Regions from separate parts of the Homo sapiens genome. Here all the other regions are linked to region 1. The links are contacts of gene promoters, found by promoter capture Hi-C in blood cells and fetal thymus (Javierre and others, 2016). All regions are on one chromosome and are shown on one strand. The core of a region is centred on a gene start or on the middle of the fragment in contact, and the rest is flanking DNA. Distances in the headings are between cores, read along the strand shown. Region 1 holds the start of CFAP206 (cilia and flagella associated protein 206). Region 2 holds the start of PM20D2 (peptidase M20 domain containing 2). Region 3 overlaps PNRC1 (proline rich nuclear receptor coactivator 1). Region 4 holds the start of LOC105377885 (a long non-coding RNA gene).

Region 1 (4,286 bases), core at 830-3,329:
AAAAACATTTATGAAAGCCTCACAGAATTTAAAGGGGAAAATGGACACCACATCTTAAAAAACCTCTTAATAAAACAGTAATCACAAAAATATTTCTTCTTACCATAAAAGCAATCAGAGTTTCAGAAACAATCTCTCCATGGGCTGCACATTCTTGTCCTATTTCTCGTATAATACTCCTTATAACACTTTCGGCCTGAGTTGGAGGCATTCTGGCTAAATAAAACAACAATTTTTTTTAAAAAAACCGTGGTTTTATGCAAATTTATTTTTTTCCTCTTTTGATTTCTGCAATATTGTATTTGTAAACAGTCATAATATCATCTATTAGCTTATTAGCATTTTTATTAGTATCTAGGCCTCTCCTGTTTTTCATTATTTTTAAAAATGAAGGACTTTATTGAAGACAGACAACGATTGGGATTTCAAATAATTGAAACATTTGATAAATAACATTTTCAATTATTTAAATTATGGTCACTAAACATATATTCCTATCATGATATTCTTAATTAAAAAAAAAAAAAAAGGCTAAGCAGGCTGGGCGCGATGGCTCACGCCTGTAATCCCAGCACTTTGGGAGGCCAAGGCAGGCAGATCACCTGAGGTCGGGAGTTCGAGACCAGCCTGACCAACTCAGAGAAACCCCGTCTCTACTAAAAATACAAAATTAGCCGGGAGTGGTGGCACACGCCTGTAATCCCAGCTACTTGGGAGGCTGAGGCAGGAGAATCGTTTGAACCCGGGAGGCGGAGGTTGCGGTGCCATTGCACTCCAGCCTGGGCAACAAGAGCGAAACTGTGTCTCAGGAAAAAAAAAAAAAGGCTAAGCAGTATTTGTAGGGGAGGGAGGTAAAATTAATGAGAAACCCAAGAGTACAGCTTTAAAAGGAGAAATGCTTATTCCACCACATTCATTAAATGACCCTTCAGAACTGTACTAGAATCTTGGAAAACAATTCTTGCTCAGATCATTAAAATGATCTTTTCCGCACATCTAAAATAGAGTTCAGACTCTCGATAAAAAAAAGCATTTACTATAAGGAAAAAGTGGTAGGTTTTGATCGAGTTTTCTGATTTTCCTGAATATCAGTAACTAAGCACAATGGAAGTTGGCATGTAGAGTATAACAAAGGCAATATCAGGTAGATAAAGCCAACTCCTCAGCATTATTAGCTTTCCAATGGATGAGTACGAAGCACTAGGCATTTTGTCCAGTGAAACCAGATTGCCTGGATTCCATGGTGACCCGACCACTGTCCAGCTGTGAGACCTTGGGCACTTGCTTCACTTCTTTCCAGAGGTGTGAGGACTAAATTAGTCCTGTTTTTAGTGGTTACAACAGTGCGCGGCTTAAGGGAATCGCTTAAAACAGCTTATAATCAGTACTCCAAGATCACAGGCAGCGCATGCGCAAGTGCCAGTCAGTGGGAGAGTCCGTCGCGCTCCGGATCTGTGTGCGCGCTCCGGATCTGTGTGCGCGCTCCGGATCTGTGTGCGCGCTCCGGATCTGTGTGCGCGCTCCGGATCTGTGTGCGCGCTCCGGATCTGTGTGCGCGCTCCGGATCTGTGTGCGCGCTCCGGATCTGTGTGCGCATGCGCGCCGCTGCCGGGTCGCTAGGGACGCGGCTCAGCACCTTCCCTGCACCCACCCTCCAATTACTAAGTCTCCCGAGGTCCGGCTTCTGGGGTAGCCAGTGGAGCGAAACAGAAGCGGGAGGCCTCAGGCACCCGCGCAAAGGCTAGAGGGCAGCCCTGCAGCCCTGGGGTGGCGCCTCCGGCAGGAATGGACCGCTGTTCCAGCTCTGCGGCGGCGCAGCCTAAAGGATCGAGACTGAGAGCTAAGTCTCGACGAGGCAGGACGCGGTCCTCCAGCCGCCCGAGCTCCGCCAGCCGCCCCAAGCTCGCCGCCTGGCGGGGTACGCCTCCGGGTCAAGGGCGCGGAGCCCCGAGTAGGCTGACCTGGATCGGAATCGACAGCAGGAGCCGTGTCTGTCTGCTTCTGTCCTGGGGCCCTCACCGCGACGGTCGGAGCAGTTGGGCGCTCGCAGCCACCGCCGCGTAACCATGGAGATGGAAGGCTCCGGACCAGAGGGGGCGGGGCCAGGTGGGGGTGGGGCGGGGTCCCACTTTGAGGGTCTTTCCCCCAAAAGATGGGCTGGAAAAACTTTAAAAACAAAGGAATTTCAGGCAGAGACATCTTAACCTCCGTGGTTAAGACTGTGAAACACAAGTTCTCGTAAATAAGGATATTAACTTGCTAGCGTGGGAATGATGAGGCGGCTTTGAAAGCGGGGTGGGGGAGAGGGAGGAGCCAGTTGGAGAGGCTGGGAAAACGGAAGGGCTGTATCCTGGGCAAATAGAGTTCTTGTAAAAGTATCTAGTTTTAAAAAACAAAAGTAAAAAGTATCGAGGTTTTATTTCATGTCCCGTTGTTCAAAGGAAGTCTGTAACAGAACGCTCCAAGATGCCCGAAGAGAAAACTGCTCATTCAAGAAGCACATGATAAGAACACATTAGTGTCCGAGTCAAAATAATGAGGTTTTATCCCTTAACGATAATATCGTTAGGCCCACCTTCAGACGTGAAAGTGTGAAAAAGGATTAAATACTCATTAGAAGGAGAGCATCAAACAACAAGGTTTTATTTTTAAACAGTAATTTTTCTCAAACTGCAAACAAATATGCAGAATATGCTTTGCTTAAGGACATTCCCTGATTACTAGGAAATGAATCAACACAAAAACTCAAGAATATACATCATAATATAACACAATTTTATTTCCGCCTTCTAGAAAATGTTCCCGGAATGTGGAAGAAGCTTGTGTAAAAATAGATGTTCAGAGTAACAAGATTTATAATAGCACAGCCTTAGAAATCTAAACACGTTATTTAAGTAAAATATCAGGCAGGTATTTAAAATTATGTTAACAAAAACCTTGTGTTTGTCTTATATTTGTTAAAAGCCAAATGCGAAATTTTTATATAATATGACTTAAACTATATTGACATACATATAATGCACAAAAAGTGTAGGTCAGTTTTTCAAAATCACAGCAAGCAATTAGATCTAAGGATGGAATTATAGGTAAATTACTTTTATTTCTTTATACTTTTCTGTTTTTTCTAGATTTTTCCATAATGAGTATATATTGTCTTATGATCTATAAAACAAAATTTAAAAATACAAGGGAGATGAGACTGGCTATTTGTAGAGAATGAACCCAATTTAGATATACAAATATACTGTAAGTATACAAGGTAAAGCAACCAAAGGACGGTGAGATAGCAAAATTTTAACAGTGGTTGTAACTTTGTAATGGCTTATGGCTGATTTGTCTTCTTTATACTTTAAGATAGCTACCAAAATGTCTTCCATGAGCATATATTATATATTAGAATATTAAATATCTTTTAAGATGGTAAGAATAATACCATCATATTAAGTATAGTTTTAAACTAATGGGCAAATCCTGGCACAAATACTCCCTGAAGTATGTTTGATACTGTTAATTCCTACTTAATGTCAATGTTTTCTTCTCTTTCTGTTACTAATTTAACCCTGTGTTGGGAATGACAGTGTTCTCTTTTAAAAAAAAAAATCTCTCAACCTCTTTCTCAGTGAGAGTGGCCTGTGACATGGTCTAGCCAATGAGATGTAAGTGTAATCACTGGATGAGGTGTCAGGGAAAGCACTTCCATTTTATGTCTATTGCCTTTCCTTTTCTTTCTACTTGAAATGAGAATATGCTGGCTGAAGCTCCAGCAGCCTTGCTGTGAACATAAACATGAGGGTCACATCTTAAGGATGGTGGAACAAAAATGAAAAAGGAACCTGAGTTCCTGGTAACGTCATGGAACAGCCCTATCAGCTTCTTGACTGGCTATCTCCAGACTTTGCATGAGAGAAGATAAACTCCTATTTTATTAAGCTACTATTATTTGGGTTTTTTGCTACATTCAGCCAAACTGAATCCCTGACTGCTACAATGGGTATGACTTTGGAAGTATTATTTAGCGTTTTGTGCTACATTGAATTATTCTCCCTAATCCTTCATGCCTCTTAGCATCCACACCTTTGCCATGGACTTTGGTGGAGTATACTTCCCCAATCCTTGATTTTGAATTTAGCCATGTGACTTGCTTTGGCCAATAGGTTGTGGTGAAGCAACGGTGTGCCAAATCAGATCCAAGATCTTAAAGAGACCCCATATTTCTGCTTTCTCTCTTGTGCCTGTATCATTGCCATGAGAAGTACATACAAAGCAAGCTCTTTGGTCCCAGAATC
Region 2 (4,286 bases), core at 456-2,955, 1.7 Mb before region 1:
CACCACGCCCAGCTAATTTTTTTTTTTTTAATATATTTTAGTAGAGACAGAGGTTTCACCATGTTGGCCAGGCGGGTCTCGAACTCCAGACCTCAACTGATCTGCCCACCGCTCTTCATTCTTGACCCTTAACTCATTAAATACGATATGTCTCTCGCTGACTACTCAGAACCTTTAAAAACGTGGTTGAAGCGAAATCTCTCCAGTGTTTGTGACATGGCAAAGCATGCTTCCCCCAACCCAAACAAAAACCTAACAAATGCAAAAACGAGCCTCCAGAGACAGAAAAAAGAAGGCAGCTAAAGTGAAAAAGCCACAAAAGATGTAGTGTTAGGATAAAAGAGGAAGGTTACTGACACTGGGGGAAATGAACTAAAGAGTATGAAAATAAAACATTTGTTTTCCCCTTAACTGAATGACGATTGAATCTTAGCTCATAGTGTAGAATATACCATCTGGAAAAGCAGAGTAAAACAGGATTAAACTTGCCCTACGACAAACATAAACGACATTTCCCTGTTTAAAGAGTCGAGGTATTTCTTAAAATCATAAAACAAAAAAATTAAGACTTAAGGATGAACTCATCTATGTATAATGCTCATTCACTTCCCCTTTATTTGTATACTTCTAGGGGTCTGGTGGTTCTAGCGACTGAAAATTCCTATCCAAATACCAATGACTTGAATCACATTTTCTAGGACTGCCACAAACAAAAGATTTATTTGGAGACGAATAAAAAGGGGCCGTAGGATTACCTACAAGAAGTTATTTCCTCCTGAGATTGATGGCACAACCTTGTCAGCAAATTGCTGTTGCCTCTCTCAGTTACCAAAAATAACCCGTAACAAACACCAGGCTTGGGTGTAAGTTCTTTCCTAAGGGAACAACTCAGCAGAGCTGTTTATAACTAGAGAGGAGGAAACAATAATCTGCAAGATGTCGCCAGGTCGGCAACGCGAACTGACTTTGACTGGGGGTTCAGCTCTGCTCCTGCGCCGAGGCGAGGACCGCAGGTTTAGCGCGGTCCCACACACACCTGCCCCGGGCGGGAGGGCACCGAGGCGCGCGGGACGCACGAGAGTCCCGCCCTTCCCGGGTCGCCCCCGACCCGGGCAGTCGGATAGGGTCCCGCACCCGGGCCCCACCTCACCTTCACGGGCGGAGGCGGCCTGGGGAGGCCCTCTAAGGCCCCCCTCACGCCCAGCGCGGCCGCCGCCCCGACCTCAGCGATGAGGTTGTGGCCGCAGGCGTGGCCGATGCCGGGCAGCGCGTCGTACTCGCAGAGGAAGCCCAGGTGCAGCGGGCGTGGCGTGGCGCTCGGTGCCCGGGCCTCCGGCGGCTCCCACTCGGCGCGGAAGGCCGTGGGCAGCTGGTAGTGCGGCTGCACTGCCCAGGAGGCCGCGGGCGGCTCCCGCTCGAAGAAGTGCGTCAGCACGCGGTGGGCATGGTGCTCCTCGTAGGCCAGCTCGGGCTGGCTCCAGATCGCGCGGCTCAGGGCCCCCAGCCGCTCGGCCGCCTCGTCGATGCACTCCGCCGAGCGCAGCTTCAGTAGCTCCAGCTCGGAGCGGCCATTGCACGCGCCCCCTTCCACGGGCCGCTCCCCTCCGGGCCTCATGCTGCCCAAGCCCGCTGCCCTCTGCGCCCTCTCGCTCCCTGGCTCGGCCGCAGGTAGCGACCGCCCGCGCACGCGCCCAGAGGCCTCCAGGACCCCGGCGGAGCGCGCACGCGGCCACACAGCTCCCAGGGCACCACCCCCAGTCCCGGGGCCGCCCCCGGCGCCGCGCGGGAAACGCTGGCGGCCGCTCGTACCCTACCAGGCGCTCTGCCCCGCCGTGGGGTTTTGGGGGTGCTGTGGAGAAGGCAGGGCTCGGGACTCTTCCACCTCCTTGGCTGCTCTGGCCTTTGAGTTATGCTCTAAGATTATCGATTACTTTTCCGTTGTTGCTTATTTCCCACAGCAGCAGAATGAGAACGGTTATTAGTTAATAGCCATCAGAGACAGACCAAGTGGAACACAGTCCTCGGAAAAACGCCACTCTGTAGCATTAGTAATTAAAACCTCACAAGGTTTGTATTTCCTGAAGGAGGCCGTCAGTGTCAATGCTGTACTAACGACGGTACTGTACGTAAGTTTCGGTACTGCCCCCACTTTCTTCTCCTTGACATTGTATTACTAAAAGCTGCAGCTACTCTCTACAGTTTTCTCATTGGTTACTAATGTCTGGAACAGCAGCTAGATTATGCAGTAAGCTCTTGGTATGTATTAGCTATTATATAATAATTTATTTGAATAGAGTAGAACTAAAAATTTGAAATGAGTTAAAACCAAAGAGTTAAAAGATTTATGGTAGTAAATATTCATACTGTTTTGTTGATTTGGACAGTTGTCTTGAACAGCTTTGAAAGGGAACATATGACAGGTTTCGTTTATAATTTTAATTGATGCTGAACTCCACTAACATGATATGTGCAGCTGGTGTTACATTATAACTGAGTTTTTTAATTACCCAGTGAAGAAATTCAAGATGTCATGCTCTTGTTTTTCTCCAGAGTGAACCACAAAGTCTGAAAAACTGTTGTTGACGGTATGCCTATTAATAACACTGTAGATGTTTATATTCTGAGGTTTTCCACATATTAAAAGCTTCTATCAGCTCTTCATACCCTATCATCTTTCCTTAATTTGTCTCAACTATGTTAAATGGGACACAATATATTAATGTGATAAACCAAATGAATATTTTGAAAATAAGTCTAAGGGAAGCTAACATGCACGAAGACTATCAACTACTGTTTTTACTACTCTATATGCTAATAATACCAGAGTAAATGTCACATTCCATTCACGTCTGAAAACTTTCTTTCTCAGTTAACACTCCAACAAAAACTCAGCTCTAAAAACAACAAATGTGTTATTAAATTCCTGGGCCCCCTTGGCGATAATAAATCTTTCTCTGGTATTCTGCTGAAGAAAATTACCCTGTATCCACGAGATCCAATATTATCCTGCTCAGTTAGTTGGCTAAAAAAAGGGGAGAAGGGGGGATTGGAGAGCAAAAGCAATAGGTGACATTTGTAGAGCAATTACTCTGTGCTAGGCACTGTTCCAAGGGCTTAGCATTTGTTAACTCATTTAATCCTCACAGCAAACTATGAGGTGGTTAATGTGGTTATTTATCTTCATTTTACAGATGTATGTCCAAGATTATAGAGCTAGTAAGTAGTGGACCCACTGTAGAACAGAAGCCAGAGTCAGCCTCCAGTGGCTGACTTTCAGCCACCATGGTCTATTGCTTGTGTAAACAGACATGCAAATTCATAAATGCATCTCCAGTTTATCTATTCAAATCAGAACCCACAACACTCATTTTGAATAAATTTTACTGCAGCAACTCTGCCTGCTGACATCAGTAGAACCCATGTTTGCCCTCCTCAGGCATCAATAAACAGCAACAGAAAAGGGATGCATATAATTTCATATAGAAGCTGCTATTTATATTGCTTTGCAGGAATTAACAAAGCTGCCACTTGAGGTAGAGGAAAGACAGATTCATTTCAAGCTCTGTTCCTTGTGTATATATGTGGGTGGGTGGGTGGGTATACATGCCCACAGGCACGTATGTATTCAGTTTCTACTGTTGACACCTTGTATTTCTTGCTCATGGTATTTTGCACCCTTGAATTCATTTATTTGATAAACTGTGATAACTTGCTGACCGTTTATCTTCCCCTCCAGGCTTTAAACTCTTTTGTTTTCCCACTGCATTCCCCAGCACCTAACATCTTATGGTCAGCATTTCCTCTGTGTTAATAAATATTTGTTGGCTGATTATTCTTCTTGAATCTAATAAACTAACTGAATAATGGCAGCAATTAACCATTAAACGACACTGACTACCAATAGACATTGTTATGCTTCTTCCTAGACTTCTCAGTCCTTTATGTGGAGCTGGGGGCAGGAAGAATTGCTTCTGGAAGCTGATGGAGTTGGACATGTGGCTTTCTAGAATCTGGTCAGCTCATAAATTCTTACTATTACTTTCATTTGTACCCATAATATTCATACAACTGTCTACCCTATCTATGTGCTACTGGTAAGGAACCTGTATGTTTTTATTAGAAACAAAAAAAAATGTATACAAGCTCCCTTCCTTTAGCTGGTGCTGGATCTGAGGAAACAATACAATATCCAGAATTTAGTATTAAGATGTATAACCTTTTTGGGGGGGTGAGAGGAGTGCAGATAGTTCTCTCTTGAGGACTGGTTTTAAAGTATATAAATGTTC
Region 3 (4,286 bases), core at 956-3,455, 1.7 Mb before region 1:
AAGCCCATACCTCTGATAATGCCCTCTAGGCCCTTTTCTCTTTTGAGCTACTGAAATATCCTCACCTAAGTAATCTGTTTCAAGCTTTCCCTTATCAAGCTGTCCTCCATATTTCTACGTTTTCTTTTTGAAGCAAGAATTCCATTCCCTTACTCATAAACCTTTGAGAACTGCCATGCTTACAAAATAAAGTTGAAGCTCTTCCGCGTGACACTGAAGGCCCTTCGTGTTCTTACCCCAATATACCTTTTAAAAACTTCCCTTCCTTTCTTGCATTTCTCTTAAGCTACTGGACATTGTACATTTTTTTTTTTTTTTTTTTTTTTTTTTTTTTTTGACATGCAGTATCACTCATCGCTCAGGCTGGAGTGCAGTGGTACAATCTTGGCTCAATGCAACCTCCGCTTCCTGGGTTCAAGCGATTCACCTGCCTCAGCCTCCCAAGTAGCTGGAATTACAGGCACCCACCATCACACCCAGCTAATTTTTTGTATTTTTAGTAGAGACAGGGTTTCGCCATGTTGGGCAGGCTGGTTTCGAACTCCTGACCTCAGGTGATCCACCAGCCTCAGCCTCCCAAAGTGCTGGGATTCAGCGTTGTGCATCTTTTTACACCACCATCTGCTCAAACTTTTACCTCACAATTTTTTTCCTTTTTTGTGTGTCAAATACTTATCTTTTAAGGCTCAACTCAATTTTTTTTTTCATTTTTTTGAGATGGAGTCCTGCTCTGTCACCCAGGCTGGAATGCAGTGGCGCGATCTCGACTTACTGTAACCTCCGCCTCCCGAGTTCAAGCAATTTTCTGCCTCAGCCTCCTGAGTAGCTGGGATTACAGGTGCCTGCCACCAAGCCCGACTAATTTTTTTCTATTTTTAGTAGAGACAAGGTTTTACCATCTTGGCCAGGATAGTCTTGAACTCCTGACCTCGTGATCCATCCGCCTCAGCCTCCGTAGGTGCTGGGATTACAGGCGTGAGCCACCATGCCCAGCTCAACTCACTGTTACTTTCTAAGGTGTCAGATTCCCAAAGAGAAAATTTTCTCACCAAAATTAGTCCCTTCACCCTAAGAGACTTTACCTTTTTCTCTCTTCAGGCATTTGTTGTTGTAGAGTGGGGAATATAGCTTGTATTTTAGTTATATTTGTCTTTTCTCCCCATCCCACCTAAACTTTCAGCTCTGCCATTTATCCTTCTATTTCCTGAACATACGTTACACATAAGCCCTCACACATTAAACTGCAGACATACTGCTCAAAATGACAAGAGCTGAGAAATGTTGGACAAGGAAAGAAGGGTGGTTGAGGCGGTAGGACTTATATTACATTGTGTAGGAATTTTTATAACCATGTGCAAAAATGTGTTGTTAAAACCTGTTAATGTGTCCCTTTCTAGAATCACAAACTGATTTGGGAGAGATGTCAGAACTCACTGTAGTCAGTCATTAGTATTAATATTTACAACACATTACTAACAAAAGCTAAAATTGGTGACTAAAAATTGGGGGCATCTTCAAACTAAACTTCTAAATGAGCTTCCCTTCCATTTGTGAGGAAGGTGTATCTGCATTTGTAAGGAAGGAATGGTGACTCACACAAAACATCAAACAGAAGTTCCTTTGTATATTCGATCTTCTTTACTTGACCTGATTGCTTAACATTCCCACTCAAAATCTGTCTCCCTTACTTTCTCTTGGCCTTTTTTTTGAGACAGCGTCTGTTACCCAGGCTGGAGTGCAGTGGCCTGATCCTAGCTCAATTGCAATCTCCACTTCTCAGGCTCAAGAGATGCTCCCGTCTCAGCCTCTAGAGTAGTCAAGTACTATGCTCAAAAACCTCAATGCTGCTCCTGGTAAGAAAATGTAGATTATGGCCAGGCATGGCGGCTCACACTCAGCCAGTAAAGTAGAAGTCAAAAAAATCCAACCACACAAAATCATCTCCTAGTCACACATTCAAACATGAGAAACAGTCACACACAAAGAGTCAAGACTATTTTAAAAGGGGGGGCCAAATTATTATTATTTTAAAATTTGATTACAACCAATTTTGTTGGCATTAAAATTAGAGGCATTAAGCTGGAATGGATATATACCAAAACCAGAAATTGAGTTTAGCAAAAATGGGAATAGGAGTTGTTCAGTAATTTCAGATTACAAATCAATTTAGAGAAACAAACCCCATGCTTACATTGATTGTGCCACAGATTTAAACTTCAGTAGTGCATTAGTAAACTGTTCACATTTAGATCTTCACCTTGAGATTTGACAGCTGTTTCTTGAAAAAAATCTCAGTACCTTGTGCAAATAAAATCGGTCTTCCATGTGCCTTAGCACACACTTAAAATTTATCCATTGTATATATACAAAACACCTGCAATGTGGGCAGGGCAAAATACATACTTTCATAACAAAACTATAATATACCTCTCAAGTATGAACAATATACACATAATACATGGTATACAGTATTTACAAAATATAAAATATAATACAAGCTGTTTGTATGTAATTTTTTAAACTCATCTTTTGCAATTGTATGTTGCAACAAGGCAAATTTCCATTTCTGTACCAATTTTCTCAAGAGTCCAGGGATATGGGAAAAATTATGTTTTACACACATACTGAAATCTGAAATCTAAGTTTGAACTTTGAGGAGCGTTTTTAAGTGTACTGCCATCAGCTCCCTGTTTTGGTTGGAATTTTCAACAGTGCTTCCCATCCAGTGACTAGGAGGCTTTGGAAGAACACTAGGAGAAGGTGGATCACTAAACTTTGCCCCAGCATAATTTTCCTTTTGGCTCACTTCAGTTAGAAATGCTGATTTCTTCAAATGCGAATTTTTAATGTTCTCGGTATTTTTAAAAGGCTTTTTTTCCTGCTTCTGAATTCTGTCAGATGAAACAGAATCCTGCCAAAAGTTGTTTTCATTTCTTTTTGCAGAGGTGATCTTGGTTAGTGGCAAGTTATATTTGCTTTTCTGTCTGTTTATCTTTGGTTGCTCATACAAGTGTATACCATGAACAAGCTGGCCATGGGGAAGGGCAATTTTCTCCGATTTTCCCATCTTTGATTTTAAAACCTACAAAGACAAGAACACAAAAGTAAATATAGTTTCTAGATAAAAATCAGTTATGAACCTCATATCACATATCTAGTTTTGTTGTGTTTAAGTTTGCCCACAGCCATAGAAAAGAACAAAATTATGTTCTTTGTGACAACACGTATGTAGCTGGGGGCCATTACCCTAGACGAATTAATGCAGAAACAGAAAACCAAATATCGCAAGTTCTCACTTACAAGTGAATTTGGGAGCTAAACACTGGGTACAACATGGATATAGTGGGGAACAACAACAGACACTAGGCACTACTAGAAGGGGGGTTGAGAGAGAGATGGGGACCTACTGGGTACTATGCTCACTACCTGGAATGGGATCATTCATACTCCAAACCTCAGCATCACGAAATATACCCATGTAGCAAACCTGCACAAGTACCTCCTTGATCTAAAATAAAAGCTGAAAATTACAAAAACTTTAATTGGGCATGGTGGCTCACGCCTGTAATCCCAGCACTTTGGGAGGTCAAGGCAAGCAGATCGCTCAAGCTCAAGGAGTTCGAGACCAGCCTGGGCAACATAGCGAAACCCCATGTCTACTACAAATATAAAAATCAGCCCGGCGTGGTAACACGCGCCTCGGGAGGCTGGCTGAGGCGGGATCCCTTCAGCCTGGGAAGGGGAGGATGCAGTGAGCAGAGATCGATCGTGCCACTGCATTCCAGCCTGGAGTGCGATAGAGGCAGACTCTGTCTCAAGAAAAAAAAAACAACAAAAAACTTAAATTTCCCTTGACTTTTAAGTTCACTCTTGTTCGCCACTAAAAATGCAGTTAATCACCACTGCTAGTTACCAGTATGCAACGTGAACCAGTTCTAAAATGTCAAACTAAAAAAAGTCTGAAATAACCCAAGTCCACCTTTCTACAACTGTAAGGAAGACTAATGAGCTCTCTTCCAAATACGAGTGCCAGAAACAATCTTTGCTGTGTACCTCCTTTCTGGTTTAGTAACTGCTTCAAGAACGCTGCTTCACTCACCTTAATCTTTCCCAACTTAAGTGGGCCTTATAGGAAGTCTTGAAAGGATGGAAAAGCGTAAGGTAATCCACTAGATCACTGCACTACCAACACTTGTAACGCGGTAGTAAGCAAGACACGACACGAAAGAGGACCACAACTTTCCACGTCAATAAGGTTCACTGCCAGAGCTCCCTAGTTAGTACCT
Region 4 (4,286 bases), core at 635-3,134, 1.0 Mb before region 1:
TTTTGAGTCTTTTTTGTAGTGTCTTTGCCCCCATTCTATTTTTCAATAAGAAAAGGTTGGCAATAGGCTAGATTGGTCAAAGACTTTGATAGGTGAAAATAATTTTTAGGGGGAATTTGAAAGAAACAGCTAGGGAGTGGCAAAGAAACACATCGAGAAGGAACAGGTCAAGAGTACAGAAATGACAAGTTTTCAGGCCAAGGCAAGGACAAATTAGGAAGTTAGAAGCCATCTGGACAGATGGAGTGTGGTGCCAAAGCCCTAAAGTAGCAGAGCCTGAGTTTTATGTAGAAGATAAAGAAAATGAGCTAATCATTGCAACTATGTGATATTATAATTATAGTGAGTAAATTTATTTTAATAGAAATATTCAATAGCATTTTTTGCATTTTTATTTCACTTATACTATTTCTAGAAAAAAAATTATATATTTAATTATTCTGAATTGGGCCTGAAAGAACTTCTACATTGAGACTACAATTAGCTTTGGCCTTAGTCCATTACAAAGGAAGTAAAGGCAATTGGAAAATGACCAAATGATGTAAACAGGCAACTTAAAAGACAGAAAATTTGTATTTGTGTGGTCAATACACGTAAAATATTCTTTTTTTTACGGGTAATTATAAATGCACATTGAATCAGCAATGATATACTAGTTTCATCTATCATTTAAAATCACACAGCGGCTTTAATTTTAAATGATAATACACAGCATTGGCTCTCTCATTCTCAGCTGGTGGCAGGGTAAGCTGACACAATCTTTGTACAGTTTGGCAATATATACCAAATCTTTAACAACCAGCACACACTTTAATTTAGCAATTTCACTTCTAAGAATTTATTCATAGAATATAACTAAGGGCAATGCCAAAGATGTTCACTGCAGAATTTTTCAGTGATATTTAAAAATACAAAGGCTAAAAAACCAACAATTAGAAATTTGTTCATTAAATTATAATTCATGCATATGATAGAGTACTATGCATTCATAAAAACGGCAGATGTCACAGAAATTTTGGCCTGGGAAGATACTCATAACATCTTGTTTTGTGCCAAAAGCAGGTTACACCAAGATGTATTGTAAAGCTATAGTTGATCAAGATAGTGTGTTATTGACTTAGATATAAGTTTAGGCAAATAGATTGGTGGAATGAAATAGAGACCAGAAATAGATGCAGATATATACAGTCAGTTAATTTTTAACAAAGGCACAAAGCATTTGAAAGGGAAAAGAAAACCCTTTCAACAAACAATCCTAGAAAAACTAGACATCCATGTGAGAAAATAAATGTACCCTAGCCCCTACCTCACACCATAAACCAAAAAAGTAATTCAAAATTGATCATAGACCTAAACATAAAAGCAAAAATTATAAAGCTTCTAAAAGAAAACAAGGATAATATCTTTGCAATTTTGGGAGAGGCAAAAATGTCTTAGCTAAGTCACAAAAGCACTAACCATAAAACATAAAATTGGTAAATTAGACATTATCAAAATTTATTCTCATAAAAACACACCACTAAAGAAATGAAAAGGTGCACCACAGACTGGGATCAAAGGTTTGCAACCCAAATAGCTGACAAAATACTTGTAATCAGAATAAACAAACAATGCCAACAATTCAATATTGAAAAACCAAATAACCCAATTAAAATAAACAAGGAGATACTTTGCAAAAGAAGATACTTCCCAAATACTAGTGGATATTTCACAAAAGAAGATAATGTAAATGACCAATAAACACATGAAAAAGGTGCTCAATAACATTAGACATTGGGGAAATGCAACTTAAAACTTCAGTGAAAGATTACTACATACTTACGAGATTGCTGCAACTTGAAAATGGGAAGTTAAATGTTGGTGAGTACATATAGTAACTGAAACTCTAATAAATTGCTGGTGGAAGTGTAAAATGATACTATCACTTCAGAAAATCATTTGGCAATTTTAAAAATAAGATCAAATATATATCTAGCCTGTGATGTGCAATTAAACTCCTTAGTTTTTACCCAAGATAAATGAAGACATACACCCATGAAAAAAAAGACTTGTACAAAGATGTTAACAACAGCTTTATTCGTATTAGCTCTAAACTCTGAAGACAACCTAAAGTCTGTAAATAGGTAAATTAATTAACAATTTGTGGTATATTCATACAGTAGAATACTAGGCAGCAATAAGAAGGAATGAACAACATTTAGCAACAAGAATGAATCTTTAGTGATACTGCTGAGTAAGAAAAGCAAGACAGAAAAAAGTACATACTGTCTGATTCAATTTATAAGAAGTACAATAACAAATGAAAATGATTATATGGTGAAAAACCACAAACAGTGGTTGCTGCTGGGGAGGTGGGCAGGGATTGACTGAAAGAGGTCATGAGAAAGCTTTTTGGACAGACATAAATACTTTGTGATTAGTGATGGTTGCATATGACATTTGTCAAAACTCATCAATGTACACACAAAATCTGTGCATTTTATTTGTGGCAACATTTCTAAGAAGGTCACCATTAATCCCTGCCTCTTGGTATTTCAAACTCTCTCACATTCATTGTTGGTCTGGGTGACCCTGAGGATACAGCAGAAATGGTGTATGTAACTTCTGACATTGGGTAATGGAAGACACCATGGCTTCCGTTTTGATCTTGCTTTCATGCTCTTCCTCTTTTGGATCACTTGCTCTGGGGAAGCCAGCTGCCATGTCCTGAAGATACTAAGGCAACCGTGTGCAGAGGAACTAAAATACCGAGTTCAACAACAGGTGAGTAGGGAAAACCAAAAACCAGGGCAGGGAGCTTGGAAATGGCTAGTCCGGTCTTCAGATGACTGTAGCTTGGCTTACCTCTTCACTGCAACTTCATGGGAGATCCAGCACCAGAACCACTCAACCGAGCCACTCTCAGGTTCCTGATCCACATGAACTTTGTGAGTTAAAAAATGTTTGTGTTTTTTAAGTTGCTAAAATTTGGGGTACTTTTTAATGCAGTAGTAGAAAATTGATGCCCTTTGTATATAAATTCCTTAATTTAAAATAAAGCAAGTAACATAACATATAGTATATTGGTCTGTTTCTTTAAAAAACATCTTGTACATCAAAATATTGATAACTGTTGTCTGGGTGGTAAGATTATGTGTGGTTTAACTTCTTTATGTTTCTAAGTATTTTTTATTTCTTCTAAATAGTATTATACAAATATTGTAACTTTTAAAATAAACTTTTAATAAAAGCAGAAAATAAAAATAACTCTTTTTTTTTCTGTGTTCACCCTTCTACAGATCACAGGTTGCGAGAGGTCTTAAATCCATACTCTTCCAGTGACTAGAGCAAATGCAGCCCTAGGTCTGGCATCCTGAATTTTTGTCTTATTTTTTCATTAGTACACGAGACTCTACTTTCATCTTTTTAAAAGGTCTCTTGCTATCCTTCAAGCAAAGCTATCTCCAAATCTGAAGAAGAGACCAAGAAATAGAAAAAGTAGCACCTCTTGCCTGCTTCCCTGTCTAATATTTGAAAGAGTGGTGAGTATTGATGTTATTATTGCCTTTTCCTTTTTTTATATTGCTACCAAAGCCATGAGTATTCTCTTTTTTTCTTTCTCTTTTTAAAAAACAAAAAATACTAAACTCAGTTTTTAAAGGGGTTTATAACCCTTGGGTCTTGGTCCCATCCAAAAGCATCTTCATTTTTATTCACTCGGAAAATCTGACTTTATGTGGTGAGCCCAAGAAGATTTGGGTTGAGGTGGTCTGAGGATTTGGGTTGAGGCCAAAAGCCAGTACCAGGGCTGAATAGTGGCAAAAATTGGGGCCAAAACCTATAGCAAGTGCAGAATGATGGGAACTCCCAGGTGTCCTGTGGTTCTTTTTGTTCCCAGGAGGCTCTGTAGCACCATTTGAACTTCTTGTTCTTTAGAATCATCCCCAGCTTTTGCAGTATTCTCAGACACAGCAGGAAAAACAGCCACGCAGCTTGAACTTAGGGTGCACACTGTGATGCTCACATAGAGCTGGGAACACTCTTGGCATGGTGCACACACCTTTTAATGGATGCAGCCGTCATCCACCAAGTGCCAATGACGACAGGCAACCAGCTGTCATAGCTTACATTGCCAGGGCCTTGTAGAAAAGGTATGACACAGAAAACATCAGTATCCAGGAAGTGATTACGTCCATTTTCTGTGACTCTGGGCCAGATTATGCAGTCTCTGTGTTCTTCATGCCCTTTGTTGATTCTCCAGATTCTGGACTGGGGGCCTCGTGGTCCTGTTGGTAGGTGATACTGGG

What was found. The method cuts DNA at HindIII sites, captures the fragments that hold promoters and counts their contacts. A CHiCAGO score of 5 or more calls a contact.
Region 2: a contact is called between the fragment with the promoter of PM20D2 here and the fragment with the promoter of CFAP206 in region 1, in 3 of 17 cell types (total CD8 T cells, non-activated CD4 T cells and naive CD8 T cells). The highest score is 9.2, in total CD8 T cells.
Region 3: a contact is called between a fragment that was not itself captured here and the fragment with the promoter of CFAP206 in region 1, in 1 of 17 cell types (non-activated CD4 T cells). The highest score is 5.3, in non-activated CD4 T cells.
Region 4: a fragment that was not itself captured here is called in contact with the fragment with the promoter of CFAP206 in region 1 in 1 of 17 cell types (M1 macrophages); the score reaches 5.3 in M1 macrophages.

The regions. Positions count from the first base shown.
Region 1 is chr6:87,405,765-87,410,050 of GRCh38, reverse strand. CFAP206 (cilia and flagella associated protein 206) reads right to left here and starts at 2,079. Exons shown (of 13, transcript NM_001031743.3): 1 at 1,962-2,079; 2 at 104-216. The coding sequence starts at 211. The HindIII fragment of the contact is 4,290 bases long and covers 1-2,821 here.
Region 2 is chr6:89,143,474-89,147,759 of GRCh38, reverse strand. PM20D2 (peptidase M20 domain containing 2) reads right to left here and starts at 1,705. Exons shown (of 7, transcript NM_001010853.3): 1 at 1,151-1,705. The coding sequence starts at 1,615. It overlaps LOC101929004 (a long non-coding RNA gene), which reads left to right and starts at 894. Exons shown (of 4, transcript XR_942766.4): 1 at 894-2,067; 2 at 3,927-4,013. RefSeq lists a silencer at 959-1,888. The HindIII fragment of the contact is 3,355 bases long and covers 1-2,646 here.
Region 3 is chr6:89,082,549-89,086,834 of GRCh38, reverse strand. It overlaps PNRC1 (proline rich nuclear receptor coactivator 1), which reads right to left. Exons shown (of 2, transcript NM_006813.3): 2 at 1,675-3,082. The coding sequence ends at 2,639. Among named protein-coding and RNA genes, the nearest start is that of PNRC1, 3.9 kb to the right of the region's middle. RefSeq lists enhancers at 1,274-1,800, 1,801-2,328. The HindIII fragment of the contact is 4,237 bases long and covers 87-4,286 here.
Region 4 is chr6:88,441,319-88,445,604 of GRCh38, reverse strand. LOC105377885 (a long non-coding RNA gene) reads left to right here and starts at 2,686. Exons shown (of 6, transcript XR_007059669.1): 1 at 2,686-2,763; 2 at 3,279-3,521. The HindIII fragment of the contact is 1,010 bases long and covers 1,380-2,389 here.